Regions from separate parts of the Homo sapiens genome. Here regions 2, 3, 4, 5 and 6 are each linked to region 1. Evidence: promoter capture Hi-C in 16 types of primary human blood cells and fetal thymus (Javierre and others, 2016). All regions are on one chromosome and are shown on one strand. The core of a region is centred on a gene start or on the middle of the fragment in contact, and the rest is flanking DNA. Distances in the headings are between cores, read along the strand shown.

The links. Contacts are between HindIII fragments. The CHiCAGO score rates a contact against its expected background, and 5 or more counts as called.
Region 2: a fragment that was not itself captured here is called in contact with the fragment with the promoter of C14orf180 in region 1 in 1 of 17 cell types (endothelial precursors); the score reaches 5.2 in endothelial precursors.
Region 3: a contact is called between a fragment that was not itself captured here and the fragment with the promoter of C14orf180 in region 1, in 2 of 17 cell types (endothelial precursors and M2 macrophages). The highest score is 6.0, in endothelial precursors.
Region 4: a contact is called between a fragment that was not itself captured here and the fragment with the promoter of C14orf180 in region 1, in 13 of 17 cell types (naive CD4 T cells, endothelial precursors, M2 macrophages and 10 more). The highest score is 13.5, in naive CD4 T cells.
Region 5: a contact is called between a fragment that was not itself captured here and the fragment with the promoter of C14orf180 in region 1, in 2 of 17 cell types (M2 macrophages and endothelial precursors). The highest score is 5.8, in M2 macrophages.
Region 6: a contact is called between a fragment that was not itself captured here and the fragment with the promoter of C14orf180 in region 1, in 13 of 17 cell types (megakaryocytes, naive CD4 T cells, M0 macrophages and 10 more). The highest score is 13.4, in megakaryocytes.

The regions. Positions count from the first base shown.
Region 1 is chr14:104,578,337-104,582,557 of GRCh38, reverse strand. C14orf180 (chromosome 14 open reading frame 180) reads right to left here and starts at 2,794. Exons shown (of 5, transcript NM_001008404.3): 1 at 2,555-2,794. The HindIII fragment of the contact is 16,067 bases long and covers 1-4,221 here.
Region 2 is chr14:104,293,311-104,297,404 of GRCh38, reverse strand. No RefSeq gene overlaps it. Among named protein-coding and RNA genes, the nearest start is that of LINC02691, 72 kb to the right of the region's middle. RefSeq lists enhancers at 1-511, 1,895-2,586, 2,901-3,568, 3,569-4,094. The HindIII fragment of the contact is 5,388 bases long and covers 1-4,094 here.
Region 3 is chr14:104,310,524-104,314,646 of GRCh38, reverse strand. No RefSeq gene overlaps it. Among named protein-coding and RNA genes, the nearest start is that of LINC02691, 89 kb to the right of the region's middle. The HindIII fragment of the contact is 1,252 bases long and covers 1,015-2,266 here.
Region 4 is chr14:104,191,267-104,195,384 of GRCh38, reverse strand. No RefSeq gene overlaps it. Among named protein-coding and RNA genes, the nearest start is that of LINC02691, 30 kb to the left of the region's middle. The HindIII fragment of the contact is 5,448 bases long and covers 1-4,118 here.
Region 5 is chr14:104,230,191-104,234,632 of GRCh38, reverse strand. All of the region lies in intron 1 of LINC02691 (long intergenic non-protein coding RNA 2691), which reads right to left. Among named protein-coding and RNA genes, the nearest start is that of LINC02691, 8.8 kb to the right of the region's middle. The HindIII fragment of the contact is 903 bases long and covers 799-1,701 here.
Region 6 is chr14:104,158,286-104,162,302 of GRCh38, reverse strand. All of the region lies in intron 4 of KIF26A (kinesin family member 26A), which reads right to left. Among named protein-coding and RNA genes, the nearest start is that of KIF26A-DT, 22 kb to the right of the region's middle. The HindIII fragment of the contact is 3,634 bases long and covers 1-3,348 here.

The DNA of each region.
Region 1 (4,221 bases), core at 1,545-4,044:
GAGCTCCCAGTTGTGGGCATGACCAGCCCGTACTGCTGGTGGGAGGTGGGGCCATGAGGGCTGAGGCCCAGGACCTTGGTCTGGGGTGTGACCCTCCAACAGTCTTTGGGGGTCTAGCCCAGTACCCCAAAGACCCCACCTCATCTTGAAGCTGCTGAGAGACGTGAGGGCACTGATGGAGCCCAGCGGCCGTGGCAGTGCCGAGTCCCTCCCCCTCGAGACCAGCCTGCAGTGGGGCGTGGGGGCGGGCCAGTGGTTCTTGCCTGGTTCTGTGGCTTGGATAACGCCAAGCTCTGGGGCCCAGCCACTGCTGCTCCCTCCCACTCCTGCCCCGTCCTCCAGGACGCCGCCCGCTGGCTTCCCGCCTCCTCCCAGGCTGCTGCCTCTGCCTGGCCCGTGCCGCCCGCCCTTTTGCCCACAGCCCACCTCCTGATGTTTCTCTGTCCTCCCTGAGGGTTCCTCGGGGCGGGCAGTGCCCCCCATGCAGCAGCTGGCTCGTGAGAAATCCTGACATCCCACCCACCCCACATGGGAGGTCCTTCCTCGGCTCTGAGCGTGCGGCCCCACACTCCCGGCTCACCCCTCGCCTGGCACTGCCCTTCCTCGGCTCTGAGCGTGCGGCCCCACACTCCCGGCTCACCCCTCGCCTGGCACTGCACCCATTCACACGGCAGCCTCACAGCCTTCCAGGGGCAGAGGGTCCCGGGGCCTGAGCGAGTGCAGGCTGGGGCCAGGCTCCCTGTTTCCCTGTTCCAGGTGCAGCCTCCCCCAGGGCAACTCACTTGGGAGCTGGAGACAGGGGGCCAGGCTCCTGGGAAGCCAGAGACCTCCCTGGGAGAAGCTGGAGACTCACAGCCCCCACCCCCACCACTTACACACACACACATACATACTCTCTCTCTCTCTCTCTCTCTCTCTCTGCCCCTGCCCACCTGGGCTCCTGCTGGTGCTGTACCTCCGGGGTGGCTCAGGCCTGATCAGCCCCGAGATCCACTGGCGGTCACAGCCTCGCTGTCGCAGGGTGTGAACCAGAGCTGTTGCGGCTCACAACCAGCTGAGAAGTTTCCATTACGGCGACACTGAGCAGTGGCCTCAGCGGCCCTGAGGGCCCCGGCTGACTTGCTGCTCTCGGGACAGCCCGGTCCATGGGGAGGCCGTCAACCACGGGCTTGGTGGCCCCAGGAGGAGCTGGGCCTCCTCAGTCTCCCAGCACCTTAGTAGTTTGGCCACAGGCCTAACCCAATGGCCCTGGGGCTGCAGATGCAGGTTGTGCCTTCTTCCGGTGGAAGAAGACTGGGACCATGGACACTGCCTCGCTGGCCTTTCCTCTGCAGGGCGGAGGCAGAACACAGCCAGGCGGGGTGGCTGGGCTCCTGGGAAAAGCCTTGGCTCCCAGCCCAACGCTCACCACTGGAACCACGCTGGCAGCTCCCCAGACAACATGCGTTCTCGACTTAAGTAAGAGGGAGAACTTGTGGGGAGGCCCCTGGCTGGGCTGACCGCCCACTGGGCTTGCTCAGGTGCCTGCAGGCCCTACCAGGTAGGAACAGGAGCAGGAGCTGCCTGGTGGCCCCCTGAGGCCCCTCTCCATGCCTAGATGGGCCCTCACATCCCGAGGTGCAGTTAGGGCTCGAGGTAGCAGCAGTACCGGGTGATGGCTGCTCATCTGCTGGGTGCAGGGGCCACCCTAGGCCTCGAGAGCTCCAGACAGACAGGGCGGGGGACCCCCCCAGGCCCTTCCTCCCATATGTGGAATGGGGGCTGTTTGCCAACTGTCCAGGGCACTGCAAAGCTCAGTAGTGCCCAAGAAATGGCGTGGCGTCCAGTGCTGGGTGGGGGTCCCATGGCCACACAGGGCAGGACAGGGATTCCTTCTGACTGACGGCTCAGAAAAGAGCCAGTTCTCAGGGATTCCCAAACACTGAGAACTAGGCTTCAGTTACTGGAGTAACGAATCCATTCCTGCTAGGCTGGGCCTGCGTAGACTTGCCCTCGGAGGATGCCCCCCACCAAGGCCCTTCAGGGAAGGCTGGCTGGGTTCATGCCTGGCACGGCTGCCTGCATTCCCCTGAGAGTGCAGCCCCTTCTCCCACTGCCCAGGCTGTTTCGCGCAACATCAGGTGCCCTTTGGAAGCTCCTGTGTGGCCAGGAGCACCCCCGCTGCTAAGTTTGAAGTGGCCGTGTTCCCTGCTTCCCCCAGAGGCGGCCTGGCCTCAGTGTGGACACAGGGCCGGCCTGGGACTGTCTCCGTTTTAGGGAAACCATCAGTCCCAGGAGAAGGGGGAAGGGTGGCCACTCTGGAGCTTGTTCAGGTCACTCAGGATCATCAGTGTGTGCTCTGCCCAGTCTCTGCCCACACCTGCTGCCCAGCTGGGGCAGGTTCCCCACCTGCACCTGCCTTTGGCAATCTCTCCGCTCTGCCCAGTCTCTGCCCACACCTGCTGCCCAGCTGGGGCAGGTTCCCCACCTGCACCTGCCTTTGGCAATCTCTCCGCTCTGGCATCTTCATACCCAAGCAGGAAGTGAGCCCCCTCTCCCTGGGGCTGGAACTCACCTGGTTCCCTCCTGGCTCCCCGAGGGACAGAAACAGGCTCTTCGGGATCTCCCTGTGGGGCACAGTCCAGTGAGGTCCTGGACCCTCTTGGCCGGCAGCACCCCTCCCAGGCCCTTGAGAGTTGAGCCTCGGGCAGAACTGCAGGGCACACAGGTGAACGGGCCAGGCCCGCCCAGGCCTCCTTCCCGAGGGCTCTGATCTGGAGGCGCCACCGCCCGCTGGCAGGGCCGGGTCTGTTGTGGCCTTCGTCCCGTCTCCAGCCCTCTCTGCTGGATCGCAAAGCTGGGCCAGCTGGCAGCGGCCAGGCTATAATTACCTCTCCCCTTTGGCAGAAATAGCAGTGAACCCGAGGACAGGCCGCTGGCCCCGGAGCAGAAGGGGGTGGCTGTTTCCCAGGCCCCCGGTGGACAACAGACCATGATTTCAGATAAGACCAGAGTTTGCTGCTGTTCCTACCCCTCCCGGCCCAAATGTGCCCCCTCCCAGGTCAATTCCAGAGCTGTGCAGCTCTTGGAAAAACCTATGGATTGGAATTCGGGGCAGAGTGGGAGAGGGAGGGCACTGTGGGGCTGCGGGAGGTGAGGTGATCACAGAGTCCAGCCTCCAATAAGACCCTGACCCAGCATGGGGCCTCCGTGGTGGCGAGAGTGCCCGCCCTGCCCCAGGCCCCTGTGCCCCTGTGAGTCCTGACCTGGGGTTGCCAGAGGGAGAGGCAAAGAATGGGTCCCAAGCTGCCGTTTTGGGGCACACTGGCCGACCCTCGATATTGCCCTGGCAGGAAGGGGCAATGTATGGGTCAGTGAGCGATGGCAGGGGTGAGGGATCAGCCTTTCTCAGGGTCTGTCCTGGGTGGGCGTCCAACTGCCCTGCCTGGCGCTGCTGAGTCTGCCCCTCATTTGTAGGTGAAAGTGCAGCTCAGAGAGTTGAGGCACCCTGTCCAGAGTCACACAGCCCGGAGGTGGTAGCCTGGCTCAGGCTTGGTGGCCCGTCCTCGCCAGCCCCCCCGTCTGCTGGTGCATGTAAAGGCAGGTCTGAAAGAGGCTGGTGAGGGCATCACTGGCGCAGGGCACCACCACATGTGGGCAGACCCCTGCCTGGTTTGTGGGGCTTTGACCTGTTTCAGGGGACTGCTGGAGGAGGTGTGGAGAGACCCGTGTTTCTCCATTAGGAATGGGGGTGCATCTCCCTTGGGTAAAGCTACAGGACCCCTGGGAGCCCAGGGTGTGCCAGGCTGGGGGACAGTGTGCACAGAGGGTGACTGCTCAGGGCCAGCCGTGGGGCTGCATGGACACAGAGTCCTGGAACCCACCGTCAGAGCATGAGCAACGCAGCCACTGGGATGGGGTTCAGCAGACCGGCCCTCCCCTCACTGCCGTCTTCAGTACAGGGCATGGGGGAGCAAACTTTTCTCTTACAGGGCCATATGGCACACAGTGCGCTCTGTGTCTACACAAACGGGGTGGGCCAGATTGGCAGGAGGGCCTTGGCTCGCTGACGCTTGTTCCAGGGAGAGCACTGAGGAAGGCTGGGTGGTCCTGCTGGCAGTCTGGCTTCCTGGGAAGAGTGAGGTCCTGTAGCCAGACAAGACCCTCTCCCGCCTGTGCCCAATCTGGGCGCTTATCCTTGGCTTCCCAGGGCTGGAGCTGCTCCTCCCAGATTTCAGAGGT
Region 2 (4,094 bases), core at 964-3,463, 280 kb after region 1:
AGTCCAGGGACAAGATCAAGCCCTTCTGAAAAATGCATCTAGCAAGCCCCTGCCCGGCTGTGCCTCAGTTTCCAGTTTCTCTTTGGCCCTCTCCAACTGGGTGGACAAGTCTGGTGACTCCTTCCTGCATGCCAGCACCTGTCACGGCCCCTGCGGCCCTGGCTGAGGCCCCTGCTGGGTGGCCTGGGTGGACCAGCCCTGGACATGCAGCAGCTGGCTCTCGCTGCTCCCCGCCCTGCCACCTGGGTCCCTGCACCTGCCTCGAAGCATCCAGTTCTGGAGCTTTTGTCCTGGGCCTGGGAAATGGGCATTTTCTGCCCATAGGCACAAAGGAGAAACTGCAGGCAGGCACGCTTCTGGAAAGTTCCAGGGCTAAGGAGATGCCGAGTCGTTCTTCCTCACCCAGGGGTCAGGTCCTCACCACAGCCCCCACCCAGTGGCTGCCCCCGCCTCTGGCCAGGAGCCCTGCCCGCCAAGCCAAGCAAGAGGCGGGACGCGGTGACGCGATGTCTCCACTGAAAGGGTCCCGCTTCCCCTCAGAGAAGGGGCCGCACATTAATTCACTCAAGGCCGGGGATTAGTCATCGGGCAAATAAGATTAAATGCCCTTGAAATGGAATTAAAATGACGTCAAACAGCAGAATATCATTTTCCTAACAGCCCTGCAAGATGCTTCCTGCTTTAACCCCTTCCTGGCCCCATCTCAACCCCCAAGAGTGAGCTCCAAGCTCGGGAGAGGTGGCACCCACGTCTCTCTGTGCTCCTGAACCTGGCTCAGGGGCCATCGAGGAATCAACACTGAGGCTACTCCTGCCAACACCCTCCCAGGGCCTTCTGAGTCCTTCAAATATCAGATGGACCTTCAGGCCCCAGGCTACAGCTGGTAGAACTTGAGCCCCAGGCCCTGCACAGGGCGAGGGGACCTCAGCCCAGCCTAGGGCCCCGGGAATAGGGGGCCTGGGCCAGGAAGGAAGCCAGGAAGCTGAGGAGGTTCCTGGTCTCTCCCTGGCACCTCCGTGCCTTCCTTCACTCGGTTCTTTCTCCTCGTTAGCACAGCCCTGCCTGCCCTCCTGGGGAACCAGCAGGCCCTCAGCTCCTTGTTCACCACCTGCAGCTCAGGGGCCCGAGGATTCGTCTCCACTTGCAGGAATCCTCTTTTCATCTTAGAAGAGAAGAGAGGAATGATAAGGCTGGGCCCAGAGTCCCAGGGAGGACTAGGCAGGCGGGCACCAGGGCTGGGAACAGCCCCTCTCCCATGGGGCTGTCCACACAAAGCCCTCATTTCCCCAGGCCCATCTGGGGTCTGGAACCCCCTTAGAAGCCAGAAAGAGTGAACCCCACCTGGCCCACCTCAGCAGCGCAACCCAGCCAGGGAAAGGGGCAGGAACGTCTGTGCCTCCTGTGCCCCTGCCCGGGTCCCCACGCCAGGACAGCGTCTTTGCAGACATTCATGGTGACCTGCCTAGTCGGGGAACATGCCTCTCTGTAGGAGGCCCTGGCTATTAGCACCACCGAGACGACCTGCAAAGTCGCTGGAAATCTTCCTCAATCATCAGCCTTAAGCCCTGATCATCATTTCTCATTTTCACTGAAACAATCACCTGTCGGAGAGGGTGGGCTGTGAGCTGCCCATTCGTCACGCAGGGCTGCCCTGGCCAAGTGCACGCGCCGCCCGGCCAGGCTCAGGCGTGGATCAATAGGCCACGTTCAGGCCGTCAATAGCTGTAAATACATTTGCGGGATCAGTCAGGACAGCCTCCTGCCCGGCCACCATCCAGGGAGCTGCTGGGCGCAGAGTACGAGTGGGGCAAGCGGTGTGCACCCTTTACCGTCCCTGGGGTCCAGCCTGTCTGGGGCTGCGTCTGTCCCAGCTCTCCCTGCCAGTGCTTCCACTTGGGCCGTCATCCTTGCTGTGCTGAGCCTGGCTCTGCCCGGCTCTGGGACTCCAGAAATGAGCCGTGATAACAGAGGCCTGGGAAGGGCCCCTCTGTGTCCTCCTCCTTGCCTTCCGCAACCCTCAGCAACAGGCCTCGGCTCCTCCTCTCTTCTCGTGGGGTGGCCTCCCATGGCAGCCAGTCCGGCTCTGGGGACGGTGAGTTCTCTCGATTCCGAGTGGAGATAAGCCCAACCCAGCATCCTCTCAGGCTGGGGGCAGCTCTCTCCACACCTGCACCGTGCCCAGGAAGTTGGCACTGATGCCCTCTAAACATTTCTCCCGGCCTGGCACCCTGTCTCCCTCCGGCCACCGCCCAGCAGAGGGCCCCCACTAACCAGGGCCACTGTCACTCAGAGTCCAGCTCAGGAACTGGGCATTTTCCCCCCACCCATCCCCACCACAGGGCAGGGCAGGGAGGTGGGGAGTCACCTCCTTCAGCCCGGACTCCGCATTCCGGTCGGGGACAATCCTTAGTGCCAATGAGGTCCCTGGTGTCTGTCACCCACTGCTGCTGTACTCTCCTCTCCAGAGACTCAGAATCAACAGGCCGTGGAAAGAGAGATTTATTGCAGTGAATTAGCTCATACAATGATGGAGGCTGAGTCCGCAGACCTGCACCGAGTCAGTAAGCTGGAGCCCTGGGAGAGCTGATGGTGGCAAATCAGGCCGGACACCAGCAGACTCGACACCTGGGTGGAGCTGATGTTCCAGCTCAAATCTGAAAGCAGGAAAGCAGCCGCCCTCCCGGCTGCAAGGCAACCAGTTTCCTCGTCATGCCTTCATCTGATTGAGCGAGGCCCACCCGCATGGGGGAGGGACATCTGCTGTGCTCAGTCTACGGATTCCAGCCTGAATCTCATCCAGAAACACCTGCACGGACACACCCCAAATCGGAGTCCACCAAATGTCTGCAGTCGCGTGGACACATAAAATTAACCCTCACAATACCTCTCCCTCTGCCCCAAACACGCAGCTGCTTCACCCACCTTCACCTGTTCCCCCGCAATTAGCCTGTGTCCCCCAGTGCCATCCATTCTGGGCACCCTGGTCAGAAGGCCCCATCGGCTCTGCCCCTTGGGGGTCCTCAGGATTTTGACTGAGCCCCCAGGGTTGGTGGCTTACGTGCCTACCTGCATTTTCCACCAGCAGGAGGAGCAGGCTCATTGCAGCTGCATTGGAGGACGAGGGCTGAGTCTAGCCTCCTCCTTGGGACTGCAGCCTCCAAGGCAGGCTCTTCACAGGAGGGTCACCAGAGCCCTCAGCTGGGAGCTGGCACATGGCCACTTCCGGCTAAATCGAGCCCGGTGGCCAAGCCTGCCATCAATGGGGACAGTGGATGAGGAAATAGTGTTTGCTGAGCGACAATCTTCTCTCTCACAGCCGCCAGCCTCAGGACAGGGAGCACGGGAGGGAGGCAGAGGGCAGCCCTCTTGTCCTTTCTCACCCCGGGATGCAGATGACAATGACCACACTCTGGTGACCAACCAGGCTGCCCCAGCCCCTCCCAGACACTCACCCGGGCCAGGCAGCAGGAGGAAGCTCCCTGGTGCTCTCAGCTCCCAGAACAGAGGATGCCTTTGCTTTGGGAGGATGGGGTGATCCTAACCACTGCTCCGTCCTGCCTTGGAGGAGGAGGCCTGAGGGTAGGGCCCAGCTACCAACCAGGCTGCTGCTGTGGACAGCCTCCATCCTGCCCAGGGCCCCTTCCTGGCAGCCCCCTCCCTCCGTTGCTCTCTGCACTCACCTCTGCCTGGCCTTGCCCCTCCCCCGGGGTTCATCTCAGCCTGCATCTCCCAACTCTGCACCTCCCAAGACAATCTCGTTTGGGCTCTGAGTCACGCTGGGGCCTCACAGGACATCTCTGGGGATGGGTGAGCCTTGGCTGGCGTCCCCGCAGAAGCGTGACCCTCACACCTGGGCCAGCGCTCTGAGGCCCCCGGCCAGCTCACCTGCTGCTAAAAGAAGGGAAATGAAGCACTGGCTTGTTTTCAAGGGAAAAGGCCGGCAGCAGATGGCCCCTGCAGCCCCCCGGCCCCTCCAGCCCCCGGGTCCCTCCAGCCCCCGGTCCCTGCAGTCCCCTGGCCCCTGCAGCCCCCTGGCCCTCCAGGCCCCTGGCCTACTCCTGCAAGCCCTGGGGAACCGATTCTGCAGCTCCGGG
Region 3 (4,123 bases), core at 391-2,890, 270 kb after region 1:
GTGGCCTGTTCCAGGGAAAAGGTGGAGTTGCAGCCACTCCTTGGACAAGGAGCAGTAAGGCGTTCTGGAAGTGGCACCTGCAGGCCTGTTCCGGGCTTGTCCTTTGGCTGCAGGGTTTCATCCAGGGTCTCAGCAAAGGCCCCCCCTCAAGTCTGTGCTGAGACAGGCAGCAAGCACGATGCTGAGAAAGGTGTGTGGCTCGTGCAGTTTGCTCAGCAGTTGGGAGGCCTGTCGTCCACTCCACACACGCATCCAGGCTGGGATCTCCACACACGCATCCAGGCTGGGATGGAGGCAGATGGAGCCAGGACATGCCCAGAGGCCCATCCAGGGCCTGACCTGGCACGGGGGACCTTGAGGTCGAAGCTGGGCCTTGCCCCGGGGAACGTGGTGAGAGAAGGGGACTCCCCCAGCCTCAGAGGCCTCAGGTTCCTCTGATGCGTCCTCAGAAGTTTCCTAACCTTGACATGGAAATGCGTCTCCTTCAATGAGAAGAGCCTGCAGTTCCATATGCTCTGAGAGCAGCCCCTCCCTCCCATACCCCTGCCCTCCCCCAAACCCAACATCCAGCCGAGAAGAAGACCTAGAGAGTGAGAACAGGGAGGGGCCACGTCCCAAGCAGGTTAAATTGGTGATACATATGCCTTTATTCGTTGTTTTTATTGCTTTACTTATTACACTTTTTATTCAGAGATTATTGTTGATCCCCAAGCAGCTACAAGAAATAACACAAACAGATCCCATGTGTCCTTCATTCCGTCCCCCCCAGTGGAAACCTCCAGCAAAACTCTAGCACGGTATCCCCACCAGGGTGTTGATGGATGCAACCAGGACACAGAGCACCCACCCCTCAGGGACCCTCAGGGTGCTCTTTTGTAGCTACACCCACTTTTCCTCTCACCCCCTGCACCCACTCCTTAATTTCTGCTAACCACCAGTCTCTTCTTCCCTTTCTATAAATTTGCCATTTCAAGAACGTTATATACATGAAACCATACATACAGTATGTAAGCTTTGGGGACTGGCATTTTTCACTCAGCATAATTCTCTAGAGATTCACCCAGGTGGCTGGACGTGTCACTAGCTCGCTCCTTTTCCTGGCTGAGTGGTGCTCCATGGTGTGGAGGCACCATGGTTTGTCTAATCATTTACCCATCGAAGGACATCTGGGTTGACTTCAGTTTAGGGCTATGGTGAATAAAGCTGCTCTAATCAGTAATGTACATGTTTTATGTGAACATGTCTTCATATCTCTGGAATACAAGACCAGGAATATAACAACTGCATCATAGGGTAATTGAGTTTTTAAAGAAATTGCCAAACTGTCTTTCTAGAGTGGCAATACTGTGTTACATTCCCATCCAGCTTCTCCACATCCTCACCAGCATTTGGTGTTTTCATTCTTTGTAAAAGTTAGTCATTCTGACAGGTGTGTAGTGACATCTCCTTGTGTTTTAATTTGCATTTCCTCCGTAGCTAATGACGTCAAACATCTTTTCATCTGTTTATTTGCCATCTATCTTCTCTCTTCAATGAAATGTCTCTGCAGGGGTCTTGCACATTTTCTAATTGGGTTGTTAAGGTTTGTTTACTGTTGAGTTTTGAGAGTACTTTGTATATACTAGATACTAATCCTTTGTCAGGTATGTGGTTTCAGATATTTTCTCTTATTCTGTAGCTTGTTCATCCTCTTAACAGATTCTATCATAGAGTGACAATTTTTAATTTTGATGAAGTCCAATTTATCAATGCTTCCTTTAAGGACCATGTTTTTGGTGTCAAGTCTATGAACTCTTTGCCTACCCCTAGTTCCCAAAGGTTTTCTCCTATGCTTTTTTCTAAAAGTTTCTTGGATTCACCTGTTACACTTAAACTATTTGTCCAATTTGAGTTAATTTTTGTATAACGTGTGATATGTTTAGACTGAGGCTCTCTTTCTGCTCAAGTAACATTTGCTAAAAGGCTATTTGTCCTCCATTAAATTACTTTTGCACTTTGTGAGATCTCACTTTGTCAAAAATCATTTGGGTACTATTGTGTAGCTCCACTCCTGAGTTCTCTCGTTCTAGTCCATTGGTTTGTGGGTCCATCCCTCAGCCAATTGACCAAATACCACCATCTAGACTAATATAGCTATCTAAAAAGTCTTGAAATTGGATGGCAGGATTTTTTTTTATTCTTTTTCAAAATTGTTTCAGCTATTCTAAGTCTTTCTTGTTTTCGTGTAAATTTTATAATTATCTTGTTTGTGTCTACAAAATAAGCTTGCTGGGATTTTTATAGGAATAGCATTAAACCCACATATCAATTTGGGGAGAATTGGCCTCTTTACTATGTTGTCTTCTAATCCATGAACATAGTCATTCTCTCTACTTATTTATATCTTTGATTTCTTTCATCAATGTTGTATACTGTTCAGCACAAGTCCTGTACATGTTTTGTTGAATTTATAACTATTTCATTTTTTGAGTAGTTGTAAATGGTATTCTATTTTTAATTTCAGCATCTGCATGTTCATTGCTAGGATATAGAAATACAATTGAGTTTTGTATGTTTATCTTGTACACTGAAACTTTGCTGAATTCCTGATTAGTTCTAGGAATATTTTGTCAATTCCTTCAGATTTTCTATGTAGACAACCTCCGCAAGTAGGGATAGTCATATTCCTTCCTTTCAGATATATATACTATGTCTTTTATTTGCTTTCATTGTCTTATTGCAAGAGCTAGAACTTCCAGCACTATGTTGAATAAGAATGGTGAAATTACACATCTTTGACTTGTTCCAATCTTGGGAAAAGAAATTCAGTATTAATTACATAGTTAGTTATAATTTTAAGTATATATATATATACTTGTTCCAATCTTGGGGAAAGAAATTCAGTATTAATTACATAGTTAGTTATAATTTTAAGTATATAAAGTTAGCTGTAGGGTTTTTGTAGATGTTCTTTAGCAAACGAGGAACTTCACCTCTGTCTTAGTCTACTTAGTGTTGTTATAACAGAACCTAAGAGGCTGGGTAATTTATAAAGAAAAGAGGTTTATTTGGCTCACGATTCTGGTGGCTGGAAAGTCCAAGAGCACAGCATCAGCCCCTGTTCAGCTTCTGGTGGGGGCCTTGTGCTATATCGAGACATGGTGAAGCGGGAAGGCAAGCAGGCATGTGCAATGCAAAAGCAAACACAAAGAGAAATCTCACTTTATAGCAACTCACTGTCACAATCACTAACCCAGTCCTGAGAGAAGGAGAATGCACTGTGGTTAGATGGCATTAATCTATTCATTAGGGATCCATCCCCATGACCCAAACACTTCCCATTAGGTCCTACTCCCCAACACCATCATAATAGCAATCAAATTTCAACATGAGTTTTGGAGGGGACAAACTATATTCAAACCGTATCATCCTCTATTCCCAGTTTGCTGATAATTTATCATGAATGAGTGCTGGATTTTGTTAAATGATTTTTCTTCATAGATTGACACTATCATGTGATTTTTTTTTTCTTCTTTAGCTTGTTAACATGATGAATGATATTGACTGATTTCAAATATTAAACCAGCCTTGCATCCCTGGAATAAACCCACTGAGTCATAGTGTATATTCTTTTTATATACTACTGACTTCTGTTTGCTAATATTTTGGTAAGGATTTTATGTCTGTATTCATGAGGGGTTATTAGTTTGTAGTTCGCTTGTTTTTTATACTGTTTTGGGTAATTTTAAAATTTCCTTTGAGATTCTTTTTGATCAATGGACTGTATTGTTTCCAAATGAACTGCTCCATCCACCCCTGGGGCCCCCTATCACTGCCACACTGTCCCTCTCCCTTCAACCACCCCACCCACCACACTCCTGCATGCTCCTAGCACTCCCTGCCACCCTGCCATAGCCCTGCATGCTCCTGGCACTCCCTGCCACCCTGCCATAGCCCTGCATGCTCCTGGCACTCCCTGCCACCCCAAGGCTTTTGCACTTGCCGTGTCCCTGCCTGCAGTGCTCTTCCCTGCCCTGACTCAGTCCCAAAGTCGCTTCCATAGGGGAGCCCTCCCCAAGTTCATCTGTTGCTCTGGGCTTCTATAAAGGATTCCCTACCCAGCCTACATCCCAGCACTGCCAAG
Region 4 (4,118 bases), core at 1,006-3,505, 390 kb after region 1:
TGTGTTTCAGACTCAGATTCCCTGGGATGGGTGATGCATCAGAGTCCTGTCCAGCATGCAGGGCCTCATCCCACCCTCTCCCTCCCACTCAGCCTCCCGCACCACCCTTCCCTGCCTCACCCCATGCCCCCAGCAGTCTCTGACGCCCCCAGAATTGGAAAGGGGGTGGTTTGGGAAGGAGAGACCCTGCTGGTGGTCTGGGCACAGGTGGGACTTCCAAACCGCAAGCAGCCCCTGCTGCTGTCCCTGGGGTGTCTCTGACTCCCGCCACTACTACAGGGCACCTGTCTCAGGTGGGCTGCTGTCCTTGGCCGCACGAGAACTCTGCACAGGGTCTTCACTCCTCGCTGTGGCCCGGTCCGCTAGCAGGAGGGTCTGCGTGTGCAGAGTGGTCTATGGAGAGACCCCAGGGCAGGGACTGCGAGGGGGCTCGTTGAAAGGACCACTGTCCAGTCCCCAAGAGTGAACACCAAGCAGGGGGGCCAGCATGCCGTGCCCCCCTTGGCCCCATCCTCAGCCTGGCATGCTGGGCCCTGCCTGGCCGCCCCCACAGCTCAGCCAACAGTAGAGCTCAGCCCTGGCCTCACCGAACACAGACATCCCCTGAAACAGACACCTGCCAGAAGGACCCTCACCCCTGCATCTCTGGTTCTCTCTGCCCTTCCAGGTTCCCCTAAGCACCTCCTCTTCCGGGAAGTCTTCCCTAACCACCCCTGGCCCAGATGGAAGCACTTCCCTTCCTCTGAGTCCCCCGCACTTTCTCTGCCTCTCTACTGGCCTAATCGTCTGCTAGACCATCAGTCACCTGCTGGACCGTAGGTGACACCCTGGACCGTAGAAGCTCTTAAGAGTCTTAAGAGCTTCAGTCTACACCTGACTTCCCTCCCTCAACACAGCCCTGACACAGCACGAGCTGAGAGCTTAGGTCTAGGGAACTAAAGAAGAACTAGAAAAGTCTGGCTTCACTGAGCCCACCATGTGCTGGGCACCGGGGATCATCACGCACACCACCCACTTCACCCTCCAGGACGAGGGACAGCTCTCCCCATTGTCCAGAAGAGGAAATCGCTGCCCAGCAAGGACAGAGCTGAAGGCCCAGCCTAGCCTCGCTGCTCCGGAGCCCTGGATGGGCAGGTGCCCTGCCGTCCGGAACCCACGGCACCCAGCCAGGACCATGGAGAGACAGGCACCTGCTCCAGGATGGCACATCCACACTCCTGAGCTGAGGAGATTGTGGAGCCAAGACTGTCTCTGCAGAAGCCGTTCATCCACCCCCTCCCCTCTGCCCAGCCCTGACCCCTCATGGCTCAGGGTGCGCGGGCCACCTCGGCCAGAGGCCTTCCCAGCGCTGAACTGTGCAAATATTTGTTTCTTTAAGAGAAAAGAAGACCCTCTGGTACTTCCAAGGGAGCATAAATGGGGCCCCAGGAAACCCCACCAGGATATGGGGCTGGCTGATGCCTGGAAGCAGCTCAAAGCAAACCAGGTAATTACCAAAAAACCAGGTAAAAACCAAAAACAGACCAACCAGAGCAGGACCTGACTTCATGGTGAACAAATGTTCTTTGTGTTTTTAAGTGAATGCTGCATTTTAAGCCAATCCCTTCCCACCTGCCCCCGCCACTGCCATGCTCCCCCTGTGCCCAGGTCACCTGGACAGAGGCTCTTCCTGGACCAGCCCTGAGAGCTTGAGGGTCCCGACCCTGCCATGGCACTGGGGCTGGGTGGAGGCACTGAGGGTGAGGAGGGAACCCAAGTTGATGCCCCGGTTCCGGAAGAGGATGAAACAGGGCCCCCAGGAGGGGTGCACAGGGGAGAACAAGTCTGAGAGATCTGGGGGCCGGAGGGACATGGGGCAGATACCAGAGAAACGATGGAACTGCAGATGTGGGGCACAGGGATGGGGTCTGGGGGCCAAGGTGGCCCAGGGGGACGTGAAGCCCCAGGGCAGGGGCAGGTGGCCCAGGGAGAGTGCAGGGAGGAGGACAGGGCTGAGGGCCACAAAGGGACAGATGAAAGACACATCCACAGGGTGGGGGGGAGTGGCCGGGGTGGGGGCCGAGAAGTGGGCACAGATGCCAAGAGAAGGGCACCAGGGCTCTGCCTTTGAAGGCTGTGAGATCTCGCCCAGCAGAGGCCTCGGTGGTTGGGGAGGAGAGGGCTGAGCAGCCTTGCGAGAGGAGACCACCCCAGCCTTGATTTCCCCAGGGGTGCACTGGGGTAGGTCCCTGGGAGTGGGCTGGGGTCTCCCACAAGGCCTCCCTGGGGGCTGGGAGCTCATTTGCGAGTCTGCTCAACCTGCCCCGGCTCTATGTTCACACCCCATGTATTGCCACCCGACGCCACGATGCCTGTGCCTGGTGCGCTGCTGCTAGAAGCTCTCAAGTGCGGCGGAGCCCCCTCCTCACCCAACTCACAGCAAAGGGAGCAGGAGAGAGAGCAGGCCAACCAGCCACAGGCAGGGGGCATCCCCACCCCTGCCTCAGCTCTGGGTGAGGCCCTTGGGAGACAGAAGCAGGACAGCCCCCAAGAGCTGGGCAGAAAGACGAGGGCAGAGGGCCCCGGGTAGCTGAGCCTGAGATTGGGGAGCTGCCTGGAGCAGGGAGCCAGGTACACACAGGGGCAGGGCTGTCCCCAGACCAAGACCTGCCCACAGGCCTCAGCAGGCACATCCCATGTGCCAGCCCGCCCAACGCCCAGCCCCTTCCTTTTCCCCTGCCTCCAGCTCATTCCTTGCCCCCAGAAGCCAGAGCCTGTCCCACTGACCCCACCATCCCATCTGAACCACCACCCAGCTGCTCCAGCTGGCCAGGCTGTGGGTGCTGAGCTGTTCTGAAGAGTGAGGGCACCAGGCTCCCGGAGGAGCCCTCAAGGCCAACCAGTCTCAGGAGCAGGGGCAGAGTCCATGCCGAGTGCGAGGAGACCCCTCTGCCCCTCTGCAGTGCCCCTCCGGCTCCACCAGGCTCACCCCAGGGGCAGACGCAACCCAGTGTGGCCCCAGGGTGGGTCTGGCCCTCCTTGTGGCCGCCCGTCCTCCTGCCCAGACCCAGGGCTCTGCTGCGAGGCGAGGCAGGGAGAGGCCTGGCTCTCCTTCCTCCCGTCAGCCTTGCACAGGCCGGCCTGCCCTGGACCTGGCCTTCCTGGTCTGTAACACGGGGTGACACGGATACCTGCCCACGCCTGGACATGGAGGGGCCCCGATAAATCCCCGTGGCAATGGCAGCAAATAGTCACTGCCCTAGAGAGGACCAGGCAGCAGCTCCTGGTGCCCCCACCCTGTGCCGCTGGCTCCGGGCACTTCACAGGCCTTTTTCTATTTCCCAGGCTCCATGTTGAGTCCACACAGCTGGTGGGAGCAGAGCCTGGCCGTGGACCCGACGGGAGGCTGCACTGTGCACACATCATCCTACCCCTGTCCGTGCCATCCCCATTGGAGCCAAATCCATTGGCGTTCCTTATGTGCCAGGCACCACTAAGCTGCATACTCCGGGTCAAATCATCTAACTGAGCCCCAGTGAGGTAGGGGTGAATACGGATCTCCAGTTTCAGAGGAGCACAGAGAGGTTCAGTAGCACACCTGGGGTCACACAGCAGGCAGAATTTGCACTCAGATAGCCCAGCTGGTCTGGGCACTGAGGCCAGTCACTGCCCGACACTCCGTGTCTCTGTGACACTAGGTGAGCCCCACCCAGGAACGGGAGGCAGGAACTGGCAGGCCCTGGGCCGTGTGGTCCGTGCAGGTGGGTTCCCAGGCAGAGCCGCCTCTCCCTGCGGTGCTGCTCTGTGATGGACCCGTCAGACCCAGGAGGTCAGCCCCGATGGCCGCCTCAATCCGCAATTGCCGTTCAGCTGACAGCAGCGTGGATTTACGAGCAGCCCTCTGCCTCCCCACGGTGGCCGAGCCACCATGCCCACCCCAACCTGGGACCAGTCCTCAGACCTCCTAGGGTCTTGGCCCACACGTCCTCTGTTCCCCTGAATGCAGGTGCAAGGGGAGGCCCCTGCCTGCATTCCCCACCTCTGCCTCTCACCCACCAAAACTTCTTGCCCCAAAGCCTCTGCTCTCCCCATTCAGGGACCCACCCACCTCCACTGTGCAGGGAGCCCTAAGCCTCCAA
Region 5 (4,442 bases), core at 1-2,500, 350 kb after region 1:
CCCCATACTGGCTGCTTTCATGGGCTGTGCAGCTTTTCCAGGCACAGTGCAAGCTGAGCTGTTGGTGGATCTACCATTCTGGGGTCTGGAGGACAGTGGTCCTCTTCTCACAGCTCCACTGGGCAGTGCCCCAGTGGGGACTCTGTGTGAGGGCTCCAACCCCACATTTCCCTTCCACACTGCCCTAGCAGAGGTTCTCTGCAAGGGCTCCACCCCTGCAACAGACTTATGTCTGGACATTCAGGCATTTCCATACATCCTCTGAAATCTAGGCAGAGGTTCCCAAACCTCAATTATTGACTTTTGTGCACCTGCAGGCTCAACACCACACGGAAGCTGCCAAGGCTTGGAGCTTGCACCCTCTGAAGCAACAGCCTGAGCTGTATGTTGTCCCCTTTTAGCCATGGCTGGAATGCAGGGCATCAAGTCCCAAAACTACATGAAGCAGCAAGGCCCTGCACCTGGCCAAAAAGACCATTTTTTCCTCCAAAGCCTCCAGGCCTGTGATGGGAGGGGCTGCTGTGAAGACTTCTGACATGACCTGGAGACATTTTCCCCATTGTCTTTGTGATTAACATTTGGCTCCTCATTACTTATGTAAATTTCTGCAGCTTGAATTTCTCCCCAGAACATGGGTTTTTCTTTTCTGCTGCATCATCAGGCTGCAAATTTTCCAAACTTTTATGCTCTGTCACCTCTCGAATGCTTTGTTGCTTAGAAATTTCTTCTGTCAGATACCCTAAATCATCTCTCTCAAGTTCAAAGTTCCACAGATCTCTAGGGCAGGAGCAAAAAGCTTCCAGTTTCTTTGCTAAAACATAGCAAGAGTGACTTTTACTCCAGTTACCAACAAGTTTCTCGTCTCCATCTGAGACCATCATCTGGACTTTATTGTCCATATCACTATTAGCAACTTGGTCAAAGCCATTCAACAAGTCTCTAGGAAGTTCTAAACTTTCCCACATCTTCCTGTCTTCTTCTGAGACCTCCAAACTGTTCCAACCTCTGCCTGTTACCCAGTTCTGCCTGTTACCACATTTTTGGATATCTTTATAGCAGCACCCCACTCTTGCTACAAATTTATTGTATTAGTCCATTCTCATACTGCTATAAAGAACTGCCCAAGACTGGGTAACTTATAAAAGAAAGAGGTTTAATGGACTCACAGTTCTGCAGGGCTGGGGAGCCCTCAGGAAACTTATAATTATGGCAAAAGGCACCTCTTCATAGGGCAGCAGGAGAGATAATGAGAGCCAAGAAAAGGGGGGAAGACCCTTATAAAATCATCACCCCTATGATTCAATTACCTCCCGTGTGGGGATTATGGGAACTACAATTCAAGATGAGACTTGGGTGGGGACACAGCCAAACCATATCAGCAAGTCAGGGTCAGGATGGAACTAAAACCCAGTTCTGCCCAAGCCAAAGCCTCTAATGGTTCATAAGATGATACCCCAGAAGAGATGTTCCCTAGCTGTGCCCAGGTCAGGATGATGCTCTCTCCAGCACCAGCCTGAGCTTGAACAAAGGCATCTTCTTTGTGTAGAAAGCAGCCAAATATGTCATCCTAAGCTGGAGCCCCTCCTCCTACTCCTGGGGAGCAGCAGTAGAGTAAGCCCCATACCACCTGCACAAGCACCCCCTCCCCATCAGCAGACCCCACATCAGTCACCACAGCTTCACAGCCTTGACCCTCAAGCTTTCCCCATGCTGCCTGCCTACCCAGCCTGGTGTCCTGGTAGTGGGAAGACCTACCACTGGACTCCACAGACAAATGCCAGTGCATGGATCCCAGGGGGTTGAGCCACTTGATCCCTGGATCCCATGGATCTGGCATACTCAGCAGCCAGATTAGCAGCCTCCCTTGCAGGCCGGACTTGGGGGATAAATAGAGGCAAGGATGGAATTAGCATCTTCAGATCTCTCTGGGATGGGAACAAAACCACAATCTCTGCCAAGTTGATGATAATGAAGAGATGATGACAATGACAGGGATGATAATAATGATGACAATGACCATGATGATGATGGTGATGATGGTGATGTGATGGTAATGATGTGATGGTGATAACGATGATGATGACAGTGATAGTGATTATAATGATGGTGATATGATAGTGATGGTGATGATGGTGATGATAATGATGGCAATGATGATGGTGATGATGATGGCAATGATGGTGATGATGATGTGATAGTAATGCTGATGACAGTGATGGTATAGCTATAATGATGATGATGTGATGGTGATGATAATGGTGATGAAGATGATGGTAATGATGGTGGTGATATGCTCATGGTGGTGTGTAATGGTAAGGATGGTGGTGGTGACGATGATGCAATAGTGATGATGATGGTGATGGTGGTGATGATGGTAATGGTGATGATGGTGGTGAGAGTGATGTGATGGTGATAATATTGATTATGATGATGATGGTGATGATGGTGATGGTAATGATGGTGGTGATGATGGAGTGTAATGGTGATGGTGATGATGATGGTGGTGGTGATGACGGAGTGTAATGGTGATGGTGATGATGACGGTGACGGTGATGATGGTGATGATGATGATGGGGTGATGGTCATGGTGATGATGATGGTGTTGATGATGTTGATGGAGTGTAATGGTGATGGTGATGATGGTGGTGGTGATGGTGATGGTGGTGATGTTGATGATGGAGTGTAATGGCGATGGTGATGATGGTGGTGATGTTGATGGAGTGTTATGGTGATGGTAATGATGATGGTAATGATGGTGATGATGTGACAGTGATGATCATGATGGTAATGATGATGGTGGTGAGGGTGTTGTGATGGTGATATGATGATTATGGTGATGGTGACAATGACAATGATGACAGCCATCTTCTGTTAACCACCAACTACATGTTAGGTACTCCCCATGCATAGACTCATTTGATTCTCACAACCATTTAGAAAGATGAATGGCATGTCCTCCCTCCATGGAGGAGCAAACTCAGACTCCTCAACTTTAAATGTTCACTAAAGTGGACACAGAGCTAGAGTCAAGCTTTAGGCTCAGGCCAGGCCCCACCACCAAGTGCTGGTGCAGGGCTGGACTGTATGAGCCCTTGTCATTGTTCTCTGAATTATCTCAGCAAGCCTGCTGTGGTTGTCATTTTACAGATGAGGAAAGTGGGTCCCAGATGGGGTAAATGACTCAACAAAAGTCAAAGCTCCATCAGCAAGTGGCAGGTCTGAGGGGCAGCATCACGTCCCAGAGTGCTGGAGGGGCAGGCAGAGGCCTGGCCTCTTGGCAACTATGAGCCTCCATGCCTTCATCTCATCTGTCATTATAGCAGTAAGGGTCATCCTGACCACCTTAGAGGTGCCCGAGGAGATGCACAGAATGTCAGGCACCCACCAGGTGCTTGGCAAACCCCGCAGGGTCTAGCCAATCCCAGAACCAGGCTCCAGCTCCCAGTCCTGTGCTCCTCTCCTTTGCTGCCCTTGCCCCTCTGGCCAGACCTCCAGGACCATCAGTGGACTCAGGTCGTGGCCTGGGAAGCTGCAGACCTGAGCGAGGAGAAACATGGTGAGGAGCAGCTAGAGGCTGAGCCTCCTCCAACATCCCCACCAGGACAGCCTTGTAAGCAATGAAATGGTTAAGGCCTCCCAGCCCAGCAGAATTGGCTCATTATCATTTCTAATATGGATCAATACTCTTCAGGCATCTGACAAAGCCGGCAGCTCTCTGTTCCCTTCCTGCCCTCCAAACATAAAAGATCCCCTAAGCCACACTGGCCCGGGGCTCTGGCCCTAGCCCCCTCCTCAGGCCTCATCTCCATAGTGGTCTTAATCAAGTCGTGGGGAAAGATGCAAGTCAATAAGTCCTCATTGATCACCTCCTCTCCCCTCCACCCCACTGACATTCTGTCAGCCCCTCCCCCACAGCCAGCCGGGCTAATGGGGGTCCTTGCCTCCCACGTAGGTAGTGGGTGGGGGGTGCTCGTGAAAGCCCTGATTGCTCTGAGGCCCAGGGCCTCCGTCGCAGCGAGGGCTCCAACACAACATATGCCTCCTGCCCGACGGCTTTGTCTTCAACAATAAAACAGGGTTTCTCTCCCGCCTCAGCCCTGGGTCCAATTTATCAGGCCTGGCACTGATCATCTGCTTCCCTGTCACCAGCCGGACTTGGGGGATAAATATAGGCAAGCAGATACAGAATTACCGTGACCAGATCTCTCTGGGTCGGGAACAAAAACCACTTTACACTCCTTATGAAGCATTTCCACCATCACAGACATGAAGGCAAAGGGGCGGGACCCCAGCAACCAACGGGAGCTCATCCTTCCCCTTGTAAGAGCCAGAGGAAGCTGCCACATGGAGCTCCCAGGCTGTGTTCCTTTGGGAAGTCACCTGCAGTGACTGAGCCTCAGTTTCCCATCAGGGACACCTACCTTGCAGGGCTGCGACAAGCA
Region 6 (4,017 bases), core at 282-2,781, 420 kb after region 1:
CTGGAAGGTTGTTCGCCCCACATCTCCACCCCACAATCTGACCTAACTTGAGGCGCCTCCTCCTCCTGGGGCCCATCGCCAACAGGCTGCACCCCAGCCTGCTGGGCCCTCCCGGTGCCTGCTTTTACGGGCTTACCTCACTGGTATGACTCAAAGACCTGCCACTGCATTAACGAGGCCCCAGAACGAGCACTTTCTCCTTTGATGAAATTCAGGCCCCCATGGAAACGACCATCAGACACAGCAGCCCCCATCTGGCTACCACGCTTGGGTTCAACAGCCCTTGAGGGCCCACGGCCCTGTGGAGGCAGGAACTTACTTTCTGAGCAGTGGGGTTTGTCTCCCCCAGGCCACAGCAGACACTGCCCACACCCAACACTGCCAGGGAGCGGCGGCCCTCAGTGGGCAAGTCTGAGGGGTTTGACTCTGAAGGGAAGACTCAGAAAAGCAGGAACTTCACCTGCATAAACAGCCCCCATCCTCACAGGACACCTCCTCCAGGAAGCCTGCCCTGATGCCCTGAGATGGGTGTCCCCAGCCCCTGCGCCTCCTGCTTCTATAGCAACTACCCCCTGCCGTGAGACACCAGTTTACACAGCTATGTCCCTGCCAGCAGGGGGTCTGGGGGCAGATGCTCACAGAAGAAGCTCAGAACACGCGTGAGCGAGGATGAACGAGACAGCGGGCACCTGAACGGCCCCCAGAGCCACCAGGTGTCTTGCTGCAATCCCACAGCCTTGCCTGGGCTCATTGGCCCTGGCCATCGATTCATGTCAACAGAAAAGGAAATATTTTCCTTTTTACAGAGAAAAATCACCGCTTCCAAACAAGAGGGTAATTTCACAGGCAGTTGGCCTTGATGGTGAGGCCCTTAATTACCCCAAGGAGACACACGAGCCTGTTCTGTCGCGTGCAGGAATCACTTATGGCCAACCCAGAGCTTCCACACTGGGCCGTGCGAGGCTGGTGGACGGAGCCCCACCCTCCCTACCCCCACCTCACCCCAGGGGCACCTGCCACCTGCCGGACCTGCCCCACCAAGGAACCAGGGCAGGCATCGGGGGACCCCAGCTGGGTCCTGCAGACCTGCGAAGGGGACCCTGGACCCCAGCTGGAGGCAGCTGGAGACTGAGGCATCAGCCCCTCCAACTCCCAGCCCTGCTGTGGTCCACACTTCCTGTGTCCTGGATTTTCACCCACAGGCCAGAAGACAGGTGGGGACACCTCTCCAGACAGTGCCTTCCATGTGGGTCCCCAGCTAAGCCTCGGGCAGCGCACTCTCCCCGCAGGCGCTGCACTTCTGCTGGGTGCCAGCCTGACCGTCCATGGGCCTGGGCATCCAGGCTGACACGGGGGCTCTGCTGAGGCCACAGTGGGGTGGGGAGTGGGGGGCCTGGGTACCTGCAAGTGCCATGAGGTGCTCCCCACCCAATGGAAGCAACCTCCCTTAGCAGTTTTCTCAAAGACATTTGATTTGGGGTCTTGGAGGGGACCCCCATACCAGCATGGCAGCGAGCAGGTGAGAGTATGATGACGGAAGTACCTCAGAGGAGGCACTGCAGAGGCTCCCAGCGCCGGCACAAACCAGCGGGGCCTCAGACAGCGTCATCAGAGTTGCCAGAACCTTCAGGGAACTCCTAACCCTGGGGGTCACCAGAGCCTTCGGAGAACTCCTAACCCCGGGGCCACCCGGCCCACGCGCCCCACCCTCCCGAACACTTGCTGGGCCAGCATGCCAAGCTCTGTCACAGCTGCGCTGCCTCAATCCCTGCAGCTTCCCCAGGCCCCACCCAGGGGGTGAGGGCATGGGGCTCAGCCCCTGCTCTATCTATGCCCCTGTTAGCATTAACGAAACTCGGGTACCCGGGCACCCATGGGATCACTCCACATCCCAGCTTCCCTGTGTGGACATAAGGAGCCCAGAGGCCACTGAAAGGATCAGGGGGCAGCCTGAGGCTGGTGCCCTAATCCGGCTGGGGGGTGCTTGTGGGCAGCAGCAGAGCTGAGACTCCCCAGGCCCACGGGATTCAAAAACTCAAACTCCTGACCTCCACCCCATTCCGTCTCCACTTGGCAATGCTGCCTGCCAGACTCCTACTCAACCCTCAAAGCCCGCTCCCTGAGAGGCCACTCTGCCCTGACTGCTACACGGGTCCCGTGCTGCCATCTAAGGCTGCCTCCACAGAGGTGCCCCTCGGTCCCTCCAGACTGGAAACTTCCCAAGGGCAGAGCAGGGGCTGGGGTCAGTGCCACTCCCTCCCAGGTCCTCTTCGAGGGTGGAGGTGGGAGCACAGAAGGTACCCTCAGCACGTGCCCAAGACCCCTGGGGCGGGGGCTGAAGCTCCACTGTCTCCTGGTGGACTCGTCCCCACTCAGAGCCACAGCCCCACACCCACAAAACCCAGGAGTGGACACCCCCTCTGATCTCACCCCTGAGGGTTCAGGGTACTGCAGCCCCACAGAGGAGGTCACCCACCACCGACCCCAGCCCACGTCAGGCATCCACCGACAGGGCCCACCTGCCAGGATGTCCCCCGCCACAACCTGAACCACGACCTGCCACCTGCAGTGGCCTCGCAGAAGCCGCTGAGACCCAGGGTGCCTAACAGGCTGGAAGTAATGGCAGCCGGCAGCGCCCCCGCCTTGGGAGAACCGCCTCTGGGTCCCCAGCCCGATGCGCTGGTTTCTATGGTAACTTCCCAAGGTCAGCAGGCAGCGCGGCTGGCAAGCGGCACCGGCCTCGGCTCCCAAACAAAAGGCAGCCAGGGCCGCTCTGCTGGGCTCCAGGTCACCAACGCACCGGCCTGGGGGCCGACACCCTACCCTTACTTCCCAGTGTCAGGAACCCTCCTTGGCACCAGGGGGCTTAGCATCAGGGACCGGGGGAGCTCTGAGCACTGGAGCTATTCTTTCTTTTCTGGAAGTCTCCACGTTTCAAATCCTCCTGCCAAACAGGACCCAAAGGAGCACGGCCACAGGGCTGTGCCCAGAACAGCCGCACAGGCCCTTTAATTCAGGACTAGGCCGGTTGTGACGGGGTGGGCTGTCCCACACACGGGGGACCCCAGAGCAGGATGGGCAAGACCCCCATCTGCTCCCACCAGGGTCCCAGCCAGCCGTGCTCTCGGCACCTAATTGGGGTGGCGCTGAGGCCACACTGGTCACGTGCGCGGTCTGGCTGTGCTCCAACGCGATGGTGTGCTCATCAGCCCTCAGCCCGGCACACGGCGTGCGACAATGCCCTAATCATATGCCCCGTCACTCTGCAATCAGACCACACGGTCCCCAGGGCCGGCGCTGATAAGACGCCCTCGTCTCTGGCCGCTGGGTGTGATGCATGTTCAAGCTTATCAGCACCCGCGTGGGGCTGCTAATGGGACACTGACCCGCGGCTGGGCCTGCCATTACCAGGCATTATGGCAATTACATCCTGTAATCCGCATCCTTACACCATCAGGATGAGAGGAGGCTCTGCCACGGGTCCCAGGACCAAAGGCCCTGCCGGGAAGGGCCCAGTGGAGGCTCCCACACCACGCCCCTCCATGCCAACTCCCCCTCCCCACCTCTGCTCTCCTGTTCCCTCTGCCTGGCCCACCCCATCCACACCACCAGTCGGCAAGGACCTGGTGCCTGCAGGGCCTCAGGCCTGGCATTCTGGCAGTGGTGGGGATCAGCAGGGGGGAGAGCAGAGAAACCAGGCACCCCGAGCTCGGGGCCTGGGAAAGCAACCAAGTGATGTCAGACATGGTCCCCCAATGTGGGATGCTCCTGGTGGAGCTGGACCTGCCAACCACAAGCCCGGCTGGCACCGTGGGCACCCGCTCAAGCCCTGCTGCCCCTCCCCTTGTGCTGCCTGAAGGCCAGCCTTGTCCTCTCCGTGGCCCCAGCCTGCGCCTCCCCCGGGCAGCCCCCAATGTCCACAGCTGAGCTGCCCCACTCCGGGCCACATTCTCCAGGCTTCACAGACATTTTCTTGCTGCAGTCACAGCGACTCCTATGAGGAAGAGCCCAGCTGAC